Regions from separate parts of the Homo sapiens genome. Here regions 1 and 2 are each linked to region 3. Evidence: promoter capture Hi-C in human tissues and cell types (Jung and others, 2019). All regions are on one chromosome and are shown on one strand. The core of a region is centred on a gene start or on the middle of the fragment in contact, and the rest is flanking DNA. Distances in the headings are between cores, read along the strand shown. Region 1 overlaps TCAIM (T cell activation inhibitor, mitochondrial). Region 2 has its middle 3.8 kb from the start of ZKSCAN7-AS1. Region 3 holds the start of ZKSCAN7 (zinc finger with KRAB and SCAN domains 7).

What was found. The method cuts DNA at HindIII sites, captures the fragments that hold promoters and counts their contacts. A contact is called where the count stands out against the background at its distance.
Region 1: a contact is called between a fragment that was not itself captured here and the fragment with the promoter of ZKSCAN7 in region 3, in 1 of the 25 tissues and cell types used here (H1 embryonic stem cells).
Region 2: a contact is called between a fragment that was not itself captured here and the fragment with the promoter of ZKSCAN7 in region 3, in 1 of the 25 tissues and cell types used here (spleen).

What each region holds. Positions count from the first base shown.
Region 1 is chr3:44,342,884-44,345,583 of GRCh38, reverse strand. All of the region lies in intron 1 of TCAIM (T cell activation inhibitor, mitochondrial), which reads right to left. Among named protein-coding and RNA genes, the nearest start is that of TCAIM, 5.5 kb to the right of the region's middle. The HindIII fragment of the contact is 6,194 bases long and covers 1-2,700 here.
Region 2 is chr3:44,688,060-44,690,759 of GRCh38, reverse strand. No RefSeq gene overlaps it. Among named protein-coding and RNA genes, the nearest start is that of ZKSCAN7-AS1, 3.8 kb to the right of the region's middle. The HindIII fragment of the contact is 6,943 bases long and covers 1-2,700 here.
Region 3 is chr3:44,553,794-44,556,493 of GRCh38, reverse strand. ZKSCAN7 (zinc finger with KRAB and SCAN domains 7) reads right to left here and starts at 1,301. Exons shown (of 6, transcript NM_001288590.2): 1 at 1,013-1,301. RefSeq lists silencers at 1,248-1,387, 1,498-1,547. The HindIII fragment of the contact is 4,885 bases long and covers 1-2,700 here.

The sequences.
Region 1 (2,700 bases), core at 34-2,533, 210 kb after region 3:
TCTCTTTCCTCCAAAATCGTGGAGGACTCGTTAGTCACTGCTAAAAAAAAAGGGGACTCTGTATATTAAACGAAGAGTGTTGTTTTTACCTAAATCAATCTGGCCTGGTATATGACAACATAAAAAAACTCAAAGATAGAGCCCAAAAACTTGCCAACCAAGCAAGTAATTATGCTGAACCCCCTTGGGCACTCTCTAGTTGGATGTCCTGGGTCCTCCCAATTCTTAAGTCCTTTAATACCTGTTTTTCTCCTTCTCTTATTTGGACCTTGCGTCTTCTGTTTAGTTTCTCAATTCATACAAAACCGTATCCAGGCCATCACCAATCATTCTATACAACAAATGCTCCTTCTAACAACCCCACAATATCACCTCTTACCACAGAATCTTCCTTCAGCTTAATCTCTCCCACTCTAGGTTCCCACGCCGCCCCAATCCTGCTCGAAGCAGCCCTGAGAAACGTCGCCCATTATCTTTCCATACCACCCCCAAAAATTTTCAGGGCCCCAACACTTTACCACTATTTTATTTTTCTTATTAATGTAAGAAGACAGGAATGTCAGGCCTCTGAGCCCAAGCCTGAACGTATACATCCAGATGGCCTGAAGTAACTGAAGAATCACAAAAGAAGTGAAAATGGCCGGTTCCTGCTTTAACTGATGACAATACCTTGTGAATTGAATTCCTTCTCCTGGCTCAGAAGCTCCCCGACTGAGCACCTTGTGACCCCCGCCCCTGCCCGCAAGAGAACAATCCCCTTTGACTGTAATCTTCCCCACTACCTACCCAAATCCTATAAAACTACCCCACCCCTAACTCCCTCTGCTCTCTTTTTGGACTCAGCCCGCCTGCACCCAGGTGAATAAAAAGCTTCATTGCTCTCTCCAAGCCTGTTTGGTGGTCTCTTCACACGGACGCGTGTGACAGTAATAAGGTCATTAGTGCCCTTATAAAAAGTCCTGTCCTCTGATCAAAACTATCAGAAAAAAGGAAAATTACAAAAAAGGAAAAAGAAAAAAGCCCCAGAGGGCTATCTTGCCCCCTACCATGTGAAGTTATAGCAAGACAACAAATCTGCAGACATCTTGATGTTGAATTTCCCAGACTCCAGAACCGCAAGAAATATATTTCTGTTGTTTTTAAGCTATCTGGTTTATGATAGTTTGACACAGCAGCTGAAGACTAAGATAGTATCCTTAATGACTTTTAATCATGGAGGATAAAGTATGTTGTGTGTAAGATGGAATTATGTAGCACATTTCAGAAGCATTTCAGAAGCATTTCTGAGGCTCGGTATGGTGGCTCATCCCTGTAATCATAGCACTTTGGGAGGTGAAAATGGGCAGGAGTTCAAGACCAGCCTGGCCAACATGGCAAAACCCCATCTCTGCTAAAAATACAAAAATTAGCTGAGTGTGGTGACACACGCCTGTAATTCCAGCTACTTGGGAGGCTGAGGCCTTGAGCCTGGGAGGTGGAGTTTGCAGTGAGCTGAGATTGCACCACTGCACTCCAACCGGGGTGATGGAGTGAGACTCTCTCAAAAAAAAAAAAAAAAAAGCATTTCCATCAAAAATAATCAAAGCAAAATAAAATTTGTGTAAAGTTCAAGGTCTTTAGTTATCCAGAAAAATACATTCATCCACTAATCGCTTTGTAATCACAGAGTATAACTAAACTACTACTGAGAAATGACTAATAAAGGACATTAGTGCTTAGAAATGTGACAATAGATTTTCTCAACAAAAATAAAATGTTACCAAATACAAATCTAAACATTAAATCATGGTTTCCAGATTTAGAAAGAGAGCACTAAAAAAATGACAGGTTGAGAATTAGGTGTTTTCTATCTGCTTATTTTGTGAGCAAGCTATTTCCTAAAAAGGTTTACATTTCAGTAGAGTAATAGAATTACAATCTAGGCCTCTGCTGTCTAAAACAGTAGGCAGCCACTAGCCACATGTAGCTACTGTGCACTTGAAATGTGGTTAGTCTAAATAGAGATGTGTTAAGCTTAACATACCCACTGGATTTAAAAGATTCAGTACAAACAATGGAAAGTATCTCAGTAATAATTTTTCATATTGGTTATGTGTTGAAATTATAATTTATTAAAATTAATTTCACTTTTACTTTTTAAAAAGTAAAACATCTAGTTTTTAGAAAATTTTAAATTATATCCAAGGCTTACATTCTATTTTTATTGGATTGTGCTGATCTAAACACTTCCAGTGAATGTGACTGTCAAAGTAGGTAGTTTGCATAATGGTTAGGAAATGGAGGCTAGGGGGCTTGAGATTTGTATTCAAATCTTGACATCTTCAGTGACTGTGTGAGCAAGGGCAAGTTACGTTACCTTCTGGAGTCTGTTTCCTCATCTCTTAAATAACATAGATGGTTAAGAAAAGTCTGTTGTAACACCAAAACATTTCTTCTTTTTTTTTTTTGAGACAGAGTCTCGCTCTGTCACCTGCGCTATAGTGCAGTGGCATGATCTCGGCTCACTGCGACCTCTGCCTCCCAGGTTCAAGCGATTCTCGTGCCTCAGCTTCCCGAGTAGCTGGGATTACAGTCGCCTGCCACCGCACCCAGCGAATTTTTGTATTTTTAGTAGAGATGGAGTTTCTCCATGTTGGCCAGGCTGGTCTCGAACTCCTGACCTCAGCTGATCCTCCTTCCTCGGCCTCCCAAAGTGCTGAG
Region 2 (2,700 bases), core at 34-2,533, 130 kb before region 3:
AGGGTTTCTGCTCAGAAATCTGCTGTTAATCTGATAGGGTTTCCTTTATAGGTTCCTGATGTTTTTGTCTCACAGCTCTTAAGATTCTTTCCTTAGTCTTGACTTTAGATAACCTGATGAGTGTGTGCCTAGGCAATGATCTTTTTGCAATGAATTTCCCAGGTGTTCTTTGAGCTTCTTGTATTTGGATGTCTAGATCTCTAGCAAGACCAGGGAAGTTTTTCTCAATTATTACCTCTAATATGTTTTCCAAGATTTTAGATTTCTTGTCTTCCTTGGGAACAACAATTATTCATAGGTTTGGTCATTTTACATAATCCCAAATTTCTTAGAAGTTTTGTTCATTTTTTAAAATTCTCTTTTCTTGGTCTTTGATGAACTGGGTTAATTTGAAAGGCTTGTCTTTGAGCTCTGATATTCTTTTCCTTCTTGTTTGAGTCTATTGCTGAGACTTTCCAGTGCATTTCCAATTCTCTAAATGTGTCCTTGATTTCCAGAAGTTGTAATTTTTATTTATGCTACCTATTTCACTGGAGAGTTTCCCCTTCATATACTGTATCATTTAAAAAATTTTTTTTAAGTTGGACCTCATCTTTCTCTGATGCCTGCTTGGTTGGCTTAATAGTTGACTGTCTGAATTCTTTTTCTGGCAATTCACAGATTTTGTCTTGGTTTGGATCCATTGCTGGTGAGCTGGTGTGAAAGTAGTGAAAGTACAGCTACACCATAGACAAAGTAGGGTGTCCCTGAAAGTAAGAGGAAGAAAGTGTCCACCCTAGGTGCAATGATCATATATATGGGGAGATGTGCTCTGTCTGCTACAAGGGTTTGTGATGTAGGATTAATTTTTTAATTACTATATTTTGCAAGAAAGGATATTATTATTATTATTACTATTTTCAAGATAGAGTTTCACTCTTATTGCCCAGGCTAGAGTGCAATGGTATGATCTTGGCTCACTGTAACCTCCGCCTCCTGGGTTCAGGAGATTCTCGGCCTCAGCCTCCTGAGTAGCTGGGATTACAGGTGCACGCCACCACATCTGGCTAATTTTTGTATTCTTAGTAGAGACAGGGTTTTGCCATGTTGGCCAGTCTGGTCTCAAACTCCTGACCTCAGGTGATCCATCCACCTTGGCCTCCCATCATGCTGGGATTACAGGTGTGAGAAAGCCACCATGCCCAGCCTTTTAAGGGAAGGTTTTTTTTTTGGTTTTTTGTTTGTTTGTTTGTTTCTTTTTGAGACAGAGTCTCACTCTGTTGCCCAGGCTGGAGTGCAGTGGTGTGATCTTGGCTCACTGCAACCTCTGCCTCCCAGGTTCAAGATTCTTCTGCCTCAGCCTCCCAAGTAGCAGGACTACAGGCGCGCACCACCATACCCAGCTCATTTTTTTTTTGTATTTTTAGTAGAGACAGGGTTTCACCATATTGGCCAGGCTGGTCTCGAACTCCTGACCTCGTGATTCACCTGCCTCGGCCTTCCGAAGTGCTGGGATTACAGGTGTGAGCCACTGCACCCGCCAAGGGAATGTTTTATGGCCTGCTTCAGGGGAGAATCATGGGAGAAGGTCAGAGAGACCATCTTGCTTCTGCTGTTTTCTCAAATGGCAAGGTGCCATATTTTATGATAGTGTTTCATGAATCCTATCTCAGCCAACGAAGAATAGATAACCTAATTTTCCCCAAGAGTCTGAAAATGTTAAACTTTACCTGAGTCTGCTCTCCTGGAAAACAGTGACAATTAAAAATCCCCACACCCTTTAGTGTTCTAGGAAATGACTTCCTGCAAAGAGCCATCCTTCCCCATATGACTTAGATGAGACTCACAGATAGCCCCACCCCCTTGTTTGTCTAGACACAGACCCTCCAGATGATTTGCTTTACAAGTGATTAACTGAACTGTTTGTACCCATGACCAATTTGGACAGCATACCTGCTAATTTAACTTGACCAAGCTTTAGTTAAGCTCCTCTCCCTCCCCTAGGTCCTTAAGTTTTGACCTATCTTCGGCCTGAGCCAGTAATGAGATGTAGAACAACCCCTCCTTATTATAAGAACATGTGATGGTTAATTTTAGGTGTCAACTTGACTGGGTTAAGGAATACCCAGATAACTGGTAAAGCACTATTTTGGATGTATGTCTGTGAGAGTGTTCCTGGAAGAGATTGGCATTTGAATCTGTGTTCTGAGTAAGGAAAATGTGCCCTCACACAACATGGGTGGGCACCATCCAAAGGGCTGAGAGCCCAGGTAGAACAAAAAGAGAGAGGTGAATTCACTCTCTCTCTCCTGGAGCTGGGACACCCATCTTCTCCTGGACCTGTGAGACAGGAGTAGCACTGGGTAGTCACAGGAGTATGGAAAAACCTGAACAACAGTTAAAATAAGAACTAGGCAAAGAAACCACAGGATAACAGAAAACTCAAAATAAGGGAGAGAAAATGGCCAAAACCCTGGTCAGGCTGACATGTCCATGACTCTTCTTGGCAAACCCAAATAAGGGAGAAAGGGGGTGGTAATGGGGGGAATAGGGGGCTGGGAGGAGTCTCTGAAATCCCTTTCTTTTCCAAAATACTGAATGATTATTCCACCCCATAATTAAAGAAACACCCATAAAATTAGAAACTCGTTGTGTGTGACTCATTCTCATGAGCACACTCACACTTCTCTCTTAAGTGTGTACTTTTGTTTTGCAATAAAA
Region 3 (2,700 bases), core at 52-2,551:
CCAATGTAGGGAGTAAGTGATCAAACCTCTTCTACTGATAGAAATGCAAAATAAAGAAAGTTTGGAGCTAAAGCTCTAGAGACACACTTAGAAGCCACACATACTCTTTCTTTGAATTTTTCTTCTTCAACTTTTGGCAAACTTGTCTGTCAAGACCATGAACAAAGGCAACTTTTTCTTGGTTTTCCTGATTGCCCCATCAGGAAGAGTGCTGGTAGCTTCCCTTTGTGTACCTCTCACTATAACCCTTTAACTGGTTTATGCACAACTCACCACTCTCACCCTCCAAACTGCTGCACGGCCACCAAAGGAAAGGAACCAAATGGAATCAGAAAATACTAGACCTTTTTTTACTCAATGCACCTCCCCTAGAAAGCCTTCCTGATCACGCTAGGCTTAGAGAGGTGGTTATTGTCTCAGTGATCCCAAACTACCTTTTTCATTCAAACCTCTAGTAGAGCACATCTCACACTGTAATCGTTTGTGGTTTACACGACTGTCTCCCCTGCTTTCTGGGAGGATACAAAGGGCAGAGCTGACTTCCAGTCATCTTTGTACACGTGTGCACATGGCACACATAATTGGGAAATGAATGAATATGATACATTTAGCTGACACTGAAGTGGAGGAAAACTTTGAACGTTTTAAAATCAGCACCTTACTGGTAACTAGGGCATCTGTGCTGTGCTTCCAGTTCACCAAGAGCCCAGATCCCTGTGTCTCAATCTCTTTAAAAAGACAAAGAAGGACTTTAAAATAATCTGTAAACTCTGCTCTAAGATCCCATATATGTAGAAAGTTCAGGCCATTCTCCTGCTTCCCATAGTGTTCCGAATGCTCAGCACTTTAAAATCTCAATTGGATTTTTGCATTTCCAAGTCACGCTCCACGTTTGCGATTCTGAGCCTGGGTCTGACCCAAATATGACAGTTCATACAGTTTCCTACTGCAAGAGCTGGGAAAACAGCGATCTACCTTTCGTGTTAAACCAGGCTTCAGCAGCGCCGCTCACCTGGCCACGTCTGCCCTGTTCATCGCTGTACCCGCAGATACCCGGCTCCGTGCCACGCACGAATGGTCAGGGGTATGAGACAAAGAAGCGGCTCTACATCGGGCGGCTTCTGAGAGTCACGGGGACCGCGCCGCCTGCCGCCGGGAAGAAGCGCGGTCCTGGCCAGCGTCGGCGACCCGAGCTCCGGCCGCGCCTCCCTCCGCGTCTCGGCCCACTCGCGGTGGCACTCGGCACCGAAGCCGGACACTCTACTGCCCGTTAGACCAAAAACAATGGCCGAGCCGGAAGCGAGAGAGGCCTCGACTTCCGCCCCCTCCGGGATCCCGGAAGTCTCGTTTGCGAAGGTGGGCGCGCGCGTCCCCGCACCCGGGAGAGCTGGCAGGGCTTACTTCTCGGCTGTGCCCGGCCACCTGCCGCGGGCGGGGTCGGGGTCTCGCGAGGGCCCAGGCCACTCACATCCCGCTCTCAGGCCATAGTCGGGGGATCCAGACGCGTCCCAGCTCTACACCTTCTCCTCCAGGTGTCCTTGGGAAAGATACCCAACCTCCAAGCCTGTTTTCTCATCTGAAAAAAATGCAGAGCATAATGCGTACCTCACAGGGCTGGGAGCACCGCATGAGGTTAACAGACACTACATAGCAAAAGGCCTGGCATATCCTGAGCAGTCAGTTATACCATGTGTGATGCCCAATCTGAAGTCTCAGTGAAGGGAGCAGCAAGCATCTCCCATCTTAAAAATGAAGAAGCATGTCTAGAAATTGTGATATTTTGGCCCATAAATGTGGTTAATATTTCGTAAGACAGCACCAGCATTCTGGTGTCCATGTAGAGGTTCCTAGGGAGACCAAGAAGCAGATAAACTGAGAAGGTGTGGGGACAGTTTGTAACCTAGTAGGCAGTTGTCTAGCCTCTGGGTGGCAGGTGGTACCCAGGTGACTTTCACTTTGAAGAATGGTTTGCATACAGAAGGAGGATATGAACTGGTCCTTGTTACAAACATGGTTGAGCAGGCCCTGTGTGTTAATGACCACGGGTGAAGGGCAAAGGGTGTGATGAAGTTAACTGTGTATCTTTATTATAGCACAGGAGATAGGTCCTTTACAGGGCCCAAAGTAAACAGTCTCCTGGACTGTCTAGGGATGGCAATATTTCAAAGGTGCCCTGGGCCTAACCCTGGCCCTGACATATGTTCCTCATATATCTGTGTGAGCCAAGATAGAAACAAAGACACCAGAAGTCCTGCTCCAGAGTTTCCACAAGCTTAAAAGTAATCTCTTGGAGCAATCTTTGTCCATTGATCCTAATGGTGGTTTCCTGTCATCAAGGTCCCCCTCTCCATTTGGAAATCTCACAAGGAGGTTTTGGCTATTTAAAACCAGGAACCCCAGCCTCTGCCTGACATTGATGCTAGACATTGCCTACTGGCAAATCAAGGCCTCAGAAGCTTAGGATTCTTGAGGTGGAAGGCAAATCAAGGCCCCAGAAGCTTAGGATTCTTGAGGAGGAAATCTCCCAAGGCCAGGCTAAATGCTCTCAGACCTGATTTTCAGGTCTCCTTGACCACGTGTTGTCCTGCAGTCCTGGCTTCCTATTATAGGAGACACAAGGATTTGGAAACCAAGATTGAGGTTTTTTATTCTTCAGAGCTGTTTCATGCACAAGTGGTTGGCTTTCATTGGCTGTAAGGA